5 separate regions of the Homo sapiens genome follow, and regions 2, 3, 4 and 5 are each linked to region 1. The links are contacts of gene promoters, found by promoter capture Hi-C in blood cells and fetal thymus (Javierre and others, 2016). All regions are on one chromosome and are shown on one strand. Each heading gives the region's core, a stretch centred on a gene start or on the middle of the fragment in contact. The rest is flanking DNA. Distances are from core to core; before and after follow the strand shown. Region 1 holds the start of OR6S1 (olfactory receptor family 6 subfamily S member 1). Region 2 holds the start of RNASE3 (ribonuclease A family member 3). Region 3 overlaps LOC100507513 (a long non-coding RNA gene). Region 4 overlaps KLHL33 (kelch like family member 33). Region 5 has its middle 34 kb from the start of RNASE3.

What was found. Contacts are between HindIII fragments. The CHiCAGO score rates a contact against its expected background, and 5 or more counts as called.
Region 2: the fragment with the promoter of RNASE3 here is called in contact with the fragment with the promoter of OR6S1 in region 1 in 12 of 17 cell types (M2 macrophages, total B cells, M0 macrophages and 9 more); the score reaches 11.8 in M2 macrophages.
Region 3: a contact is called between a fragment that was not itself captured here and the fragment with the promoter of OR6S1 in region 1, in 11 of 17 cell types (naive B cells, erythroblasts, total B cells and 8 more). The highest score is 12.8, in naive B cells.
Region 4: a fragment that was not itself captured here is called in contact with the fragment with the promoter of OR6S1 in region 1 in 1 of 17 cell types (naive B cells); the score reaches 6.7 in naive B cells.
Region 5: a contact is called between a fragment that was not itself captured here and the fragment with the promoter of OR6S1 in region 1, in 8 of 17 cell types (naive B cells, total B cells, M2 macrophages and 5 more). The highest score is 10.2, in naive B cells.

The regions. Positions count from the first base shown.
Region 1 is chr14:20,640,354-20,643,125 of GRCh38, reverse strand. OR6S1 (olfactory receptor family 6 subfamily S member 1) reads left to right here and starts at 1,435. Exons shown (of 1, transcript NM_001001968.1): 1 at 1,435-2,430. The coding sequence starts at 1,435. The coding sequence ends at 2,430. RefSeq lists an enhancer at 1-498. The HindIII fragment of the contact is 1,898 bases long and covers 446-2,343 here.
Region 2 is chr14:20,890,041-20,892,812 of GRCh38, reverse strand. It overlaps RNASE3 (ribonuclease A family member 3), which reads right to left and starts at 1,428. Exons shown (of 2, transcript NM_002935.3): 1 at 1,362-1,428; 2 at 465-1,131. The coding sequence starts at 1,126. The coding sequence ends at 644. All of the region lies in intron 1 of LOC100507513 (a long non-coding RNA gene), which reads left to right. The HindIII fragment of the contact is 4,045 bases long and covers 1-1,462 here.
Region 3 is chr14:20,871,621-20,874,392 of GRCh38, reverse strand. LOC100507513 (a long non-coding RNA gene) reads left to right here. Exons shown (of 4, transcript XR_110261.4): 3 at 1-834. Among named protein-coding and RNA genes, the nearest start is that of RNASE3, 18 kb to the left of the region's middle. RefSeq lists enhancers at 342-391, 502-601. The HindIII fragment of the contact is 1,516 bases long and covers 608-2,123 here.
Region 4 is chr14:20,429,797-20,432,568 of GRCh38, reverse strand. It overlaps KLHL33 (kelch like family member 33), which reads left to right. Exons shown (of 5, transcript NM_001365790.2): 3 at 1,850-2,772. Among named protein-coding and RNA genes, the nearest start is that of KLHL33, 5.0 kb to the left of the region's middle. The HindIII fragment of the contact is 2,721 bases long and covers 63-2,772 here.
Region 5 is chr14:20,855,536-20,858,307 of GRCh38, reverse strand. No RefSeq gene overlaps it. Among named protein-coding and RNA genes, the nearest start is that of RNASE3, 34 kb to the left of the region's middle. The HindIII fragment of the contact is 4,704 bases long and covers 1-2,772 here.

The sequences.
Region 1 (2,772 bases), core at 186-2,685:
GAGTTTATCAGAGGCTTGGACTGCTTCTGTGTCTCTTTGTTGTGCTTATCTGGGAGGGAGAGTTTTGTGTCTGTTCCCATAATCTTTCTGTAGCTGCAGGCATACTCCCATTCAGCTTCCCTATCTTAGTGCACCTGAAGGGAAAGAAAGGTGCTTATTAAGGCCCATCGTTTTACTGGGGCCCATTGTATGATGGTGAAGTTTGGCGGTTACCCAAAAGAATTTCCCCTCACCTCCCTCTGTGCCCGAGCTGTCTTATCTGTGTTTTACTGTCTGCTCTTTCTGGCTGCCTGTAGTTAGAAGAGAAGTGATTTCTTTGAAATGCATGAGGCTAGAAAGGGAGCTGAAACTTAAAGTGGCAGTGTTTGTCCAAGACGATGGTGCTCCTGCTCTGTCAAAAGGGAGTAAGGATTCTCCTGATACCTGAGGCATTTTTAAACAAGCTTTCTGGATATAATGGACTTGATTTTTCTAACTGGTGGTGGTCCTCAGAACTGGGAGGACTTGAAGCAAAGAATAAGAATCAAAGAATAAGAACATAATTTTTTATTAATAGTTGCGGTCAGAAATTCATAATTTTGGCTCTGACAAACATCTGACGGGGTTTCACCATGTTGGCCAGGCTTGTCTCAAACTCCTGGCCTCAAGTGATCCGCCCGCCTCGGTCTCCCAAAAGCTGGGATTACAGGCATGAGCCACTGCGTCCTGCCGGAAAGGGTAATTTTATATAATTTCATTAGGTATACTAATGGCCTAGATTCCTGTGACTCATTGTACAGTTGGACAGTTAAAGTACAAATTGATAATCTTCCAAGAGTAATGGCAAGCCAAGCCTAGATTCTGGTGTCCTAACTTATAGCCAGGGGCTTTCTCTGCCATATAATTTTTAAGTTAAGTACTAGACACTCTTAAATTCTTTGCACTATTATATCATTTGCTCCTTACAGCATTTCACAACTGAGGAGCACAGAGAGGGTAAGTAACCTTACCAAGGCTACTCAGCCAGTAAGTGGAGATGCAGGAATTTAAAACTAGGTAGTCTGACTCAAGTTCTGATCCCAGTTGAATGGTAATCATATTCTTCACAAAATCCTTTTTCAGATATTTTTGCCCAACTCAGATGCTCAGTGATATTGTTATTACAATAATGAGGTGTCATTATTTAAGATCTGAGAACAGGATATGTGAAGATGGAGGAGATGGAGGCTCCTGGCATTTTCATACCTAAGTTTTGTTACCCTTTAGAGAAAATCTTCTCTAGTGCTAAAATCAATCAGATGATGACCTTAAGTGCTTCAGATCTTAACAGGACCTGCAATTGGATAAACTGGGGATATGAGTCCCATATCATGATGAAGTAAGTTTCAGGACTGTAAGCAGAGGACCTGCTCTTACCAGGATCATGTTTTTGTTGTTGGACAGGTGAAAAAGACAATGAGTCCTGATGGGAACCACAGTAGTGATCCAACAGAGTTCGTCCTGGCAGGGCTCCCAAATCTCAACAGCGCAAGAGTGGAATTATTTTCTGTGTTTCTTCTTGTCTATCTCCTGAATCTGACAGGCAATGTGTTGATTGTGGGGGTGGTAAGGGCTGATACTCGACTACAGACCCCTATGTACTTCTTTCTGGGTAACCTGTCCTGCCTAGAGATACTGCTCACTTCTGTCATCATTCCAAAGATGCTGAGCAATTTCCTCTCAAGGCAACACACTATTTCCTTTGCTGCATGTATCACCCAATTCTATTTCTACTTCTTTCTCGGGGCCTCCGAGTTCTTACTGTTGGCTGTCATGTCTGCGGATCGCTACCTGGCCATCTGTCATCCTCTGCGCTACCCCTTGCTCATGAGTGGGGCTGTGTGCTTTCGTGTGGCCTTGGCCTGCTGGGTGGGGGGACTCGTCCCTGTGCTTGGTCCCACAGTGGCTGTGGCCTTGCTTCCTTTCTGTAAGCAGGGTGCTGTGGTACAGCACTTCTTCTGCGACAGTGGCCCACTGCTCCGCCTGGCTTGCACCAACACCAAGAAGCTGGAGGAGACTGACTTTGTCCTGGCCTCCCTCGTCATTGTATCTTCCTTGCTGATCACTGCTGTGTCCTACGGCCTCATTGTGCTGGCAGTCCTGAGCATCCCCTCTGCTTCAGGCCGTCAGAAGGCCTTCTCTACCTGTACCTCCCACTTGATAGTGGTGACCCTCTTCTATGGAAGTGCCATTTTTCTCTATGTGCGGCCATCGCAGAGTGGTTCTGTGGACACTAACTGGGCAGTGACAGTAATAACGACATTTGTGACACCACTGTTGAATCCATTCATCTATGCCTTACGTAATGAGCAAGTCAAGGAAGCTTTGAAGGACATGTTTAGGAAGGTAGTGGCAGGCGTTTTAGGGAATCTTTTACTTGATAAATGTCTCAGTGAGAAAGCAGTAAAGTAAAAGTGAAGAGTCTAGTAACTAGTCTTTTTTTTTTTTTTTTTTTTTTTTTTTTGAGAGAGAGAGAGAGAAAGTCTCACTCTGTCGCCCAGGCTGGAGTGCAGTGGCGCGATCTCAGCTCACTGCAACCTCCACCTCCTGGGTTTAAGCAATTCTCCTGCCTCAGCCTCCTGAGTAGCTGGGATTACATGTGCCCACCACCACACCTGGCTAATTTTTGTATTTTTAGTAGAGATGGGGTTTCACTCGATGACCAGGCTAGTCTCAAACTCCTGGCATCAAGTGATCCACCCACCTCAGCCTCCCGAAGTGCTGGGATTACAGGTGTGAGCCACCACACCTGGT
Region 2 (2,772 bases), core at 179-2,678, 250 kb before region 1:
CTATCAAAATTTATCATTCATAAATCATAATGAAGCACGTGCATTTTCAGCTGATTCACTGCAGCTCTTTTTTTCTTGGGATAGAAATCATGTCAATAAAAACCATAGTCGGACCATAAAGCATCAAATGGGACCTCAATATCAAATTGGGCTCAATTCTGGAATACAACTAAAACAAGTGGAGATCTATACACAAGTTATAGGTTGGTGTTGGGGGAGGAGTCAGTGGATGGAAAATTGCTTAGAGGAGATATTAAGGCTAGGGAGACCAATGCTAAGTTGACTCAATTGGATTTTTTTTTAAGGCAGGCCTGGAATCAGGTATCACATGAAGGATGATGGGGGAATTAAGGAATTTGGTCAGATATTGAGGGGGAGAGATTCATGATAAACCCAAATCTCTAGAGCAGATTGTCACTAAATGACAGCAGAGCGGCCGAGGAAGACACACAGACACTTCCAGATGAATTTGCAAAGCAGTTTATTGCAGGGTTCACAAGGGACTTCAGCTCAGGAAAGCTGAAGGGGTATGGAGACTGATGAGGACAGTTGCTGATACCCAGAGTACATGGAGGGATGGGATCTTGGCTATGATTGAGGAGCTTGGCAGATGAGTGATGATGAGGACTGCTGATACAGGAGCTTAGATGGTGGTATCCAGGTGAACTGGAACCACAGGATACCGTGGAGAATCCCGTGGATCTCTGTTGTCACATGCAACTACATAGAACCTCCTTCCTGGTCTGTCTGCATACGTGCAGTTTGAAATATTCTGTGCACCTGGATTTATGAGGTCACAGTGGAGTAAAGGCACCCGGAATCTACTCCGATGACAATTGTTGAGAGTTCTGTTATGAGGGCAGCGTATACTTTGGTTACCACAAACATTAACTACATTAGCAAAAGTTGTACGAAGAAAAGTATTTTGGTTTTTGCAACGCCATCGATAATTGTTAATTGCCCGCATTGCAATGGTGCATCGAGGGGGGTTCAGACTGATGTGCTGGATGGCAAACCACTGAGCCCTCGTAAACTGTGGGGGTCTGGCATGGAGTGAGCCCTCCACACCCATAAGCCCCAACAGAAGAAGCAGACAAATTTGGGAAGTGAACAGTTTTGGAACCATGTTTCCTGTAAGAAAAGAAGAGAAGTAACTACTCCCCGATCCGGTCTCGGTTATGACACACTCTATAGTGTCTCAACCCACAGGCCCCTCTGCTGCCACTCTGGGGTCGCATTTCCTTTTCTTCCTGTCCCCAAAGTGTGCCACATCTCCTAAGCACTAACTTCAGCTCACCTCTCCCTCAGGTGCTGCCCTGTCGCTGCCCCTCCTGTCCCAGCTCTGGGGATTGTTGACTTACCCAGTCTCTGAGCTGTGGCTCCTGTGAGAACTGATCCAGCTGGTTGTTCTGGGGTTCAGGGGCAGCTGGTCTCCCCTACTTGGAACTGTTTAAATAAAGCTTCCCTTGGTGGGTCTGGCCATGCAGAAACCCACAGATTGACACATGGTCCACTTGTGCAATCATCCTTTTTATTTGATGACTTGGCTGAGCAACGGATACCCAAGGACAGCCCTGCTGCTCTTTCTGCTATACGGACTCTAATTCCAAGTCATCCTGTGTTAGACAGAGTTTTGCCGGTGGGATCTGGACTCTGGGTGAAAACTATACGCTGCCGGCAGAATGACCACAGATTTTATAACTGTCCTCTGGCAGGCCCCTAAATGACTAAATGACACGAAGGCAGGCATAGTAGTTAGGAGAAATAGAGCCACAGAGGGCTGTTTGCCCAGGAGAAACCCAGCTTCCCTTCCATTTTTAGTAATATCCTTGGTTCTCTCTCACATAAATGCTCTCCATCTCATCCACCACTCTTGCTGGAAACTTGAGCTATTAATTTCTTGGGGCACAAGATTCTGTAGATAATTAAAACAATCTGCTCCATACAATTGAGGAATTTTTTTCTTTACTCCTCTTGCATTGGATCCACTTTCTCTTAAGTCTTGCCCTGATTATTGATTCCACTTTGTGTAAAGTTACATAACCTAAAAACACACCGAGGACAGTTGTAAAATCTGGCAGAGGATGAATGAACATTTGGTGTCATGAAAGATTCCAACCTAGCACTCGGTATTCCTGTGATCTTTTCAGCCTATGGTATTTTCTACAAAACAGTGTGTTCTGGGGTTGTCATTCATCTTCCTGGTAAGTTTCATTTTGTGATATTAACAAGAATATGGTTCTGTATTTACAAATGAACATTTAAGGACAGAGCACTGTATTCCTGAAAGTATAGAGGTCAAGTGTACAGTTTGATACACAAAGCATACATTTATTCTTGGCCCTCAGAGAAACACAGGAAAGTACTTGTAGACATATAATTGTATTACAGTGTGATAGAGGTAATAGCATTTGTGTGAACATGGTGTCATAGGGACACTGCTGGTGAAGGAAATCACTTGGCTTGAGAAATAAGGAAAACTTCAAAAAAAAGTTTATTTCAGCAGGTCCTAAAGGATAAGCAGGGGATTTTCAGGGGATTTAGAGAAGAGATGAGCATTCTGGGCACAGGGGATGATGTGGGGAAATTGTACAGAGGTGAGAAGTGAATTGCAAAGGTAAGGCCTGGGTACTAACAGATGTTAAATCTGGTCTAGCTTTGAGATTAGAAAATGGAAAGTAGACCCTTAAATGATATAATATACCTTCCAACAGTTAATCTGCCTAATTTTTACTACCGTCCAATTTTCCTGTCATTTAGAAATGCAATAAT
Region 3 (2,772 bases), core at 116-2,615, 230 kb before region 1:
ACAACGGCACCTGAATGACTTGCACCCTACGCCTTCAAATCTGTGCAGCACTGTCAAGGTCTTCTTTGTAAATGCTTCGTCCTTTGCACGCAGGCTCCTGCGTCTTTCTTACAGCCTGTTCCCCACCAACCCCATGTGCCCTACCCCTGCCACAGTGTCAGGGCTTTTGGTGGAGGATAAGGCTGCAGTGGAGGGTTGGTGGGAGGGAGCCTGAATTACGGAAATAATACTCGGGAAAAGACTTGCTCCAACCAAGCTGCTAGACAATCCCCTTCTCCTGGGGCTGATCTTCCCACCAGCTGCTCTCATAAAACCTCCTGATGGCTGGCCCTAGGTTTCCTGGATCATAGGGTCCTTCTGCCTTCTGCGGGACATTCTATGCCTTTCTCCTCAATGGGCTCCTTCGGAGGGTATTAGGGACGATACCCTGGCGGGAAACCGCTTCCTTTAGGGAAACAAATCACTGTGGCTCCAGGGGTGTCACCGGAAAAAGCCGTTTCCGGAGAAGCCGGAGGAGCTTGGGCAACTCCGCAGGCCCAGAGCCTTCGTGGTCTCCCAGTTCCCGTGGCCGTCGTATTGGTCGGCAGGGGGCGCCGCGCCACAAGCTTCCTGCACAAGAGTCCAAAACTTCTTTCTTGGTTTCCTTTGAGACAGGCTGCAGGTTTCTTGGTTGCTGACACGGGTAGACGATAATAGGTGAATAAACAAAATCCAGCCAGCATAAATACAGTCTAACTGTTGAAGAACAGATTTCTGAGTCTACCATAACTTTCATACACTGCAGCACTTTAACGTTGAACCTGCCACCTTCAGATTCACACTGCAGCACCTCAGGTAAGAAGGAAAGGAAGTGAATATGCACTGAGGACCTACTTGTGTTATGAGCTTTACAGTTCAGCTGCGCTGGAGAAGAGTTTATTTCTTTCATGGAATCCATTACATCACCGATCCCCTTCTGAAGGAGGTTATTTTATCCACGAGAGGAAGCATCCAAAGGTGTTCATATTCTCTACCCTGTGACTCCAGCAGAATGGTGACAAGGTTTTGAAGCAAAGGAGGGCACTTGACTCTAGGGCAGCCGTCCATTAACTGACTAGCCCGGTGCCTGTGGAACAGAGTTGCGTGAGGATTTTACCCTTTTGGAATAATCCAGTGACAAAACTGGATACTATTACTTTCATTCCTTCCCCCGATGCCAGGAGGTATAGCTGTTTTGCCTTTGTTCTTGACATTCAGCACTTAGCCTAATGCTCGCTATAAAAGTGCCTTCAAGAAATCTTTAAGGGGCCATTTTGGTAGGTCTGGTTGTTGCTGTGGATCTTTTGTAGATGCCCATTTTTAGATTAGAAAAGTTTCTTCCCTTCTGCTCCTGTTTATGTCTCTTGAATGGATTGGGAATTTCGTTGAATGATGGGATTATACAGCATATTTCTTTAATCAGTTAATGGGGTGAATTAGATTAGTTGATTTTAGAATACTAAACCAACCTTGTATTCCTGGGATAAACCCATTTTGGTTATGTGATATAATCTTTTTTATATATGACTAAATTTAATTTGCTAATATTTTGTTAAATTTTTTTTGCATTTATGTTCACGAATGAGATTGGTCTGTAATTTTTTGTATTGCCTTGTTTAATTTTGGTATCTAGGTTATATGTTAGCTTCCAGAAATGAATTGGGGAGTAGTCCTTCTTTATTTTGTAACTGGAATTATATGTTATTTTAATACTTGGTAGAACTCACATGTAAGGCTGTTTGGTCCTGATATTTTCTTATTTTCTTTGAGACTGCTTTTTCTTTTTTCTTTTCCTTTTTTTTTTTTTTTGGAGATGGGTCTTCCTATGTTGCCCAGGCTAGTGTGCAGTGGCTATTCACAGGTGCAATCACAGAGCATACCTCGAATTACTGGTCTCAACTGATCCTTGAACACTCGGTCTCAGGTGCCTCAAACTCCTGGGCTTGAACTCCTGATCTCGAATAATCCTGCTGCCTCAGCCTCCAGAGTAGCTGGGTCTACAGGTACACACCACCAGGCTTAGCCTCAAACTATTTTAAACTTCTGTTTCAATTTCCTTAATGGTTAAAGAGATGCTAACTTTTCCATTTCTTCTTGAGAAAGCTTTGGTAGATTGTTTTTTCCCACGTAGGAATTTATCCATTTCGTCTAAAGTTCCCAAATATATTAGCACAAAGTTATTCATAATCTGTTTAATATTTATAGCATTGATTTTATGTCCTATTTTTATTCTGACTTTTTTGTACCTTTTTTATTGATAAAACTTTTGAGGTGTGTCTCTCTTATTAGACAGAGATTTTTTCAGACATGCAGAAGCGAGTACTTATAAACTCATGTAGAAACTTTTTTAGAATGGGTCCGTCTTTTTTTTTGAGATTGAGTCTCACTCAGTCACCCAGGCTGGAGTGCAGTGGCACAATCTCGGTTCACTGCAACCTTCGGTTCCTGGGTTCAAGCAACTCTCCTTCCTCAGCCTCCTGAGTAGCTGGGATTACAGGCATGCGCCACCACACCCAGCTAATTTTTGTATTTTTAGTAGAGACAGGGTTTCACCATGTTGGCCAGGCTGGTCTTGAATTCCTTACCTCAGGTGATCTGCCCTCCTCAGCCTCCCAAAGTGCTGGGATTACAGGTGTGAGCCACCGTGCCTGGCCAGGTCCACCTCTTGAGCCACACAGATCTGCTTCCCCAGACAGGTTCAAGAGACAACTCCTCCAGGCTTCCTACCAGTCTCTGTTCCTGAAGGGAAACTTA
Region 4 (2,772 bases), core at 174-2,673, 210 kb after region 1:
GTTTGTTCAACCCAGGAATTAATCAAGGACTATGCTATTCTCAGTTGCATGTCTCTTAAGCTTCCTTTAATCTAGTACAGTCCTTCCTCCTTTTTTTTTTTTATTACTTTATATATTGATTGGTAAAGACAATAACATGTAAGATTGGTTACCCTGGGCCAGGCATAGTGGCTCACGCCTGTAATCCCAACACTTTGGGAGGCCGAGGCAGGCAGATCACTTGAGGCCAGGAGTTCAAGGTTAGCCTGTCCAACATGGCGAAACCGTCTCTACTAAAAATACAAAAATTAGCCAGGCATGGTAGCGTGCACCTGTAGTCCCAGCTAATCTGGAAGCTGAGGCACGAGAATCACATGAAGCTGGAGGGTGGAGGTTGCAGTGAGCCGAGATTGTACCACTGCACTCCAGGCAGGGTGACAGAGTAAGACCCTATCTCAAAAAAAAAAAAATTGGTTATCCTATAAAATGCTCCATTTTCTTGATTTGTGTGGTTTTTCCCCTCTAAATTGTTCCTTTAGCCTTTCAACTTCCTATAAACTTGACTTTAGATCTAAAGAGTTGAACAGATTCAAGTTAAATATTTTGGCCAGAATAATCCATAAGTGATGCTGAGTATGAGGTCTAATTGTTTAACAGCGTAGGTTAATAGGACAGTTTCATTGTCATGAGGACCATGCAGATAACCAAGGTATTGGTACACAAGCATGCTTATTGCAGCCTGACATCAGTGGCAGTGGATGGAGATGATCTGCCCACACAGCCACTGCATGGAAATGAAAAATAAATCACATGCTTTCTTTGGGACCCAACTCAGTTTCCACATTTTATTTATTTATTTATTTTGAGATGGAGTCTCGCTCTGTCACCCAGGCTGGGTGCAGCGGCGCAGTCTCAGCTCATTGCAACCCTCGCCTCCCAGGTTCAAGCTATTCTCCTGCCTCAGTCTCCAAGTAGCTGGGATTACAGGCGCCTGCCACCATGCCCGGCTAATGTTTGTATTTTTGGTAGAGATGGAGTTTCACCATGTTGGCCAGGCTGGCCTTGAACTCCTGACCTCAAGTGATCCTACCCACCTCAGCCTCCCAAAGTGCTGGGATTACAGGTGTGTGCCACGACACCCAACCAGTTTCCTTATTTTAAAGGGAATAATTGAATTAGATTATTTTGAAGTTCTCAAGTTTCAGATCTCATGATTCTACAAATTACACCAAGAACAGGAGAGGGTTATGCAGAGAAAAGCTGGGACGCACGGAAAACATTAAACACTAAATCTTAGGCAAGAGGAGACAGCAATCCGATGAGGTTGGATTACAGCCATTCCCGAGTGGTGCCACTTTCCCAGCAAAATCTAACAGAATGGCTGACAGTCTTGGCTCTTGATTGTAAAGAATTTTATTTTGTCACGATATAGACAGACCTATATAAGTTGCTTGTTGGTCATTTCCCATTTATTTTGTGCTCCTCTTAGCAAATGCTTTCCTCTCAACCTGATCCATGAAGACTCTTTTTCTGACTCATCTGACCAAAAAGACTAAAGCAATGTTTATCTAAGTGTCTTCAGGCCACTAACATGAGAATCACATAGGGTTACTTGAAGTGTTACAATACAAATTTCTAGGGTCTCCGTCCAGAACTGCTGAATCAGAATCTCTGGGAGTGGACTGCTGAAACCTGCATTTTAACAACTACCCCATGGTATTCTGATGCACACCACAGTTTGGTCTGTAGCAGTGGGTGGCTTGGAGGGCCAAACTTAGAGTTTGGCCAAACTTAGAGTACCAAGTTGGGGTAATGCCTATCGGTCTTGCAATACTTTGAGTCCTCCTCTATTCCTTCTCCCCTCCTGCAGTGCACCGAGCCGCCCTGGCCTGTGGCAGTGAGTTCTTTGGGGCCATGCTCCTGAGCGGGATGAGGGAATCCCAGGGCACAGAGGTATCTCTGCGGACGATCTCCACCCAGGACCTGCGACTCCTCGTCTCTTTTGCTTACTCCGGAGTTGTGCGGGCAAGGTGGCCAGGGCTACTGAGAGCTGCCCAGGCTGCTCTGCAGTACCAGAGCTCTTCCTGCTTGGATTTGTGTCAGAAAGGCTTGGCACGGGGCCTCAGCCCTGCCCGTTGCCTGGCCCTGTTCCCCATGGCGGAAGCCCCTGGGTTGGAGAGGCTCTGGAGCAAAGCCCGTCACTACCTCCTCACCCACCTGCCTGCTGTAGCCTTGTGTCCTGCTTTCCCTTCTTTACCAGCTGCCTGCTTGGCTGAGCTCCTGGATAGTGATGAGCTCCATGTGCAGGAGGAGTTTGAGGCCTTTGTGGCTGCACGGTGTTGGCTGGCTGCCAACCCCGAGACCCAGGAGTCAGAGGCCAAGGCCCTGCTGCGATGTGTCCGCTTTGGCCGCATGTCCACCAGGGAGTTGCGGAGGGTGCGGGCAGCCGGGCTACTTCCACCCCTGACCCCAGATCTGTTGCACCAGCTGATGGTAGAGGCTGATGTTCCAGGCCAAGAGAGACGGAGGGAGCCTGACCGGGCACTGGTAGTGATTGGCGGGGATGGGCTCAGACCAGACATGGCCCTAAGACAACCATCCCGAGCAGTGTGGTGGGCCCGGGCCTTCCGCTGTGGCGTGGGACTGGTACGAACTGTTGAGTGGGGGCAGCTGCCTGCCCTGCCTGCCCCCGGACGCTTCCGGCATGGGGCTGCAAGCCTGGCAGGAAGTGAACTCTATGTGTGTGGGGGACAAGATTTCTACAGTCACTCCAACACCCTGGCTTCAACTCTC
Region 5 (2,772 bases), core at 127-2,626, 220 kb before region 1:
GGCTTAACCTCAAACCTGTGTAGCTAAATGGGAGAGTTAAGAGAAGGGAGAAAAGGTGAAAATCGTACTGTGTTAGCATCCGGCCACCAAATAGAGGCAAATAAAGGAGATACTTGCTTTTTAATCCTGGTGCCAAGGTCTCTGGATAGAAAAGGCTGGTGTAAGTCAGGTGTTGTGGGAGGAATTTGCCTCTGAGGGATGGACAGTGGTTCACATGGCCAGATCAGGCAGCAGATGTGTGCCGATGCTGGCGAAGCCTTCGTCCTTACAAGAGACAAGTCAAAGAGACCCGAAGTAATGAAGAGAATGCAGAGGGTGGAGCCTCCAGCAAGCACGAGTTGAGGAGTAGTCTGGGGTTGTGAAGATGGGTATTTTTACAAAAGCAACCACATTTGAATTTGTATCTTTGATGAGAATTTTTGCACACTGAGTCTTGATGTCCTCAAAAAAGAAAATACAATAATAGGAGAGCGCCCCCTGCCGGCAAGCAGTGAGCTAGGCATCTCTACCTCTGAGCCTGATTGACCCGGCTCCCCTTCCTCGGTTTAGAAGGTGCACAGAAACCTTAGCTGAGCTGCTTCTGTTTCATTCTTGAGGGCGTGGGGGTTTTCATGGCGGTCCGGATCTTCTGTGCCTGGAGTCAGCCTAGGTTCACCATGCTGCCTCTCCTCTGCATTTTTCCTCCCCTCCAACTTCGCCCTCAGTCTCTCTCCAATCTCAACTTTGCCACACTTTTCAAGAGGCAATTTATTTTCACCAAATTTCAGGGTTCTCAAAAGACAGTAAGATTAAGTTTGGCTTCATACACTTCCTCCTTTCCATTCTGCAGATATCCTAAGGAATTGCAAAAGGGTCTGGCTCTCTGCTTGGAACTAGAGGCATGAGGAAAATACAAAGAGAAGAAAGAAAAAGTAGTATCTCAGCAAACTATCCTGCCTCACATATGTTCTTTAATTTTCTTGCTGGAAAATCTCTGGGCCCTGTCTCTATGCTCTTTCCATCTCAGGGTCCAGAATAGGGAGAATATGAAATTATATCCATGTGGGTGTAATATCAAATTTACCTTGAACCCCAGTATTAGATCCTGACTTGCAAAGACAATCTCTGAAAAGGTAAAGGGGTCTGTATGTTGGGCGCCTCAGTTGCTCTTTCCTGGCCTAACTTAAAGAAGGGCTTTGAAGTGTGTGTGGTGTGTGTGTGTGTGAGAGAGAGAGAGAGAGAGAGAGAGAGAAAGAGAGAACCTTAACTGGGAAAGGGGCTGATTTTTTTGATGATTATCTCTTCCTCAGTCTCAATGTGGATGGGGAAATTTCCACTGTGTGGTAGCATTCGTGAGAACCACCCTTTCTACTCATTGCCAAAAGTTAGAAGTTATTGTTGTACAGATTTTTGTTAGTTGGGAAACAAGATAATTCTATAAAAATGTGGAATATTTCTATTAGAATCATTTAAAAAACAAATGCCCTTAGACTGTGTCTTTTTGCTCTCACTACTATGTGTGATCATGAATTCACAAACACTCCTGATTTTTCTGAAGTAGTGGTCTACAAACTCTAACATAAACCAGGATCTCCTGGATTAGCATTCTCTAATAAGCTGGAAGTTTATTAGGTAAAAACACAAAAATACGTGAGGCCTACTACTAATAATACAAGTCAGAGTATCTCCAGATTATTGACTCTGGGATGTCCAAGTCAGTACACATTGTTGAAGACAGAAACACACTTGTGCTACAATAAAATGTGAGCCATGTAATACAATAGATTAGGGGCCAGCCTGGCCAATATAGCAAAACCCCATCTCTACTAAAAATACAAAAAATTAGCCGGGTGTGGTGGCGCATGCCTGTAATCCCAGCTACTCAGGAGGCTGAGGCAGGAGAATCGCTTAAACCTGGGAGGCGAAGGTTGCAGTGAGCCAAGATCGCGCCACTGCACTCTAGTCTGGGTGACAGAGTGAGACTCCATCTCAAAAAAAAAAAAATAGATTAGGGGATATGAAATATCTGAAAGGAAGAAAAGGAGCCAAGAAAAGGAAAGGAGGAAAGAAGAATACAAGGGGATACAAACAATAAGCACATGAGAAGATGAAGTTTCCAGTGTGGCAGATACTCTCTTCCTTCCCTAATGCCTGGAATCTGGCTGTGCGTGGAGAAAGATGAAAGGCTCTGTCTAGTGAGTCCACTGGACTAGAAGCTCCCTGGGACTAGGTTATGTGTTTTGCATCTCCAGTACCTAGCGGTCTGCCTGGCACAGAGTCTATGCTCAGAAAGTGTTTCATTGATGAATGGAGAGACAGGTAGTACATTAGCATGCTGAGTTTGCAAAAAGTCATTAAATGTGTAAATTAGAATGTTCTACCAATTATATGTTATACTACCCTCTGTTCTATATCTCAGTGATCGTCTGTCTGAATTTCCCGCTTTGAACACTAGATGTCCTCTGGGACTGACACCATGACCAGACCCTAGCGATTCAAATCTCTCACCAGCGCTCTCCTGCTGAGGGCTGGGTCCTGTTTCAGAACTTCTGTCAATGGACTGCTCACTGAAACATTACCCTGGCTCCCACGTGACTTATAGCGTTAGCCAGTGCTTGAAACCTACTCCCCCACTGGGTTGGTTCTTCTAGAATTCTGATATTAGCCTCAATCTACTAGGCATTTTACTTTGGACTGCTGACCATCCACCTTGGGAATGAGCTCTTTAGCCAGTTCAGTCAATCCTACCAAGAACTGGCTTCTTCCTTTACTCAGTGACCTATCTCAAGGGTT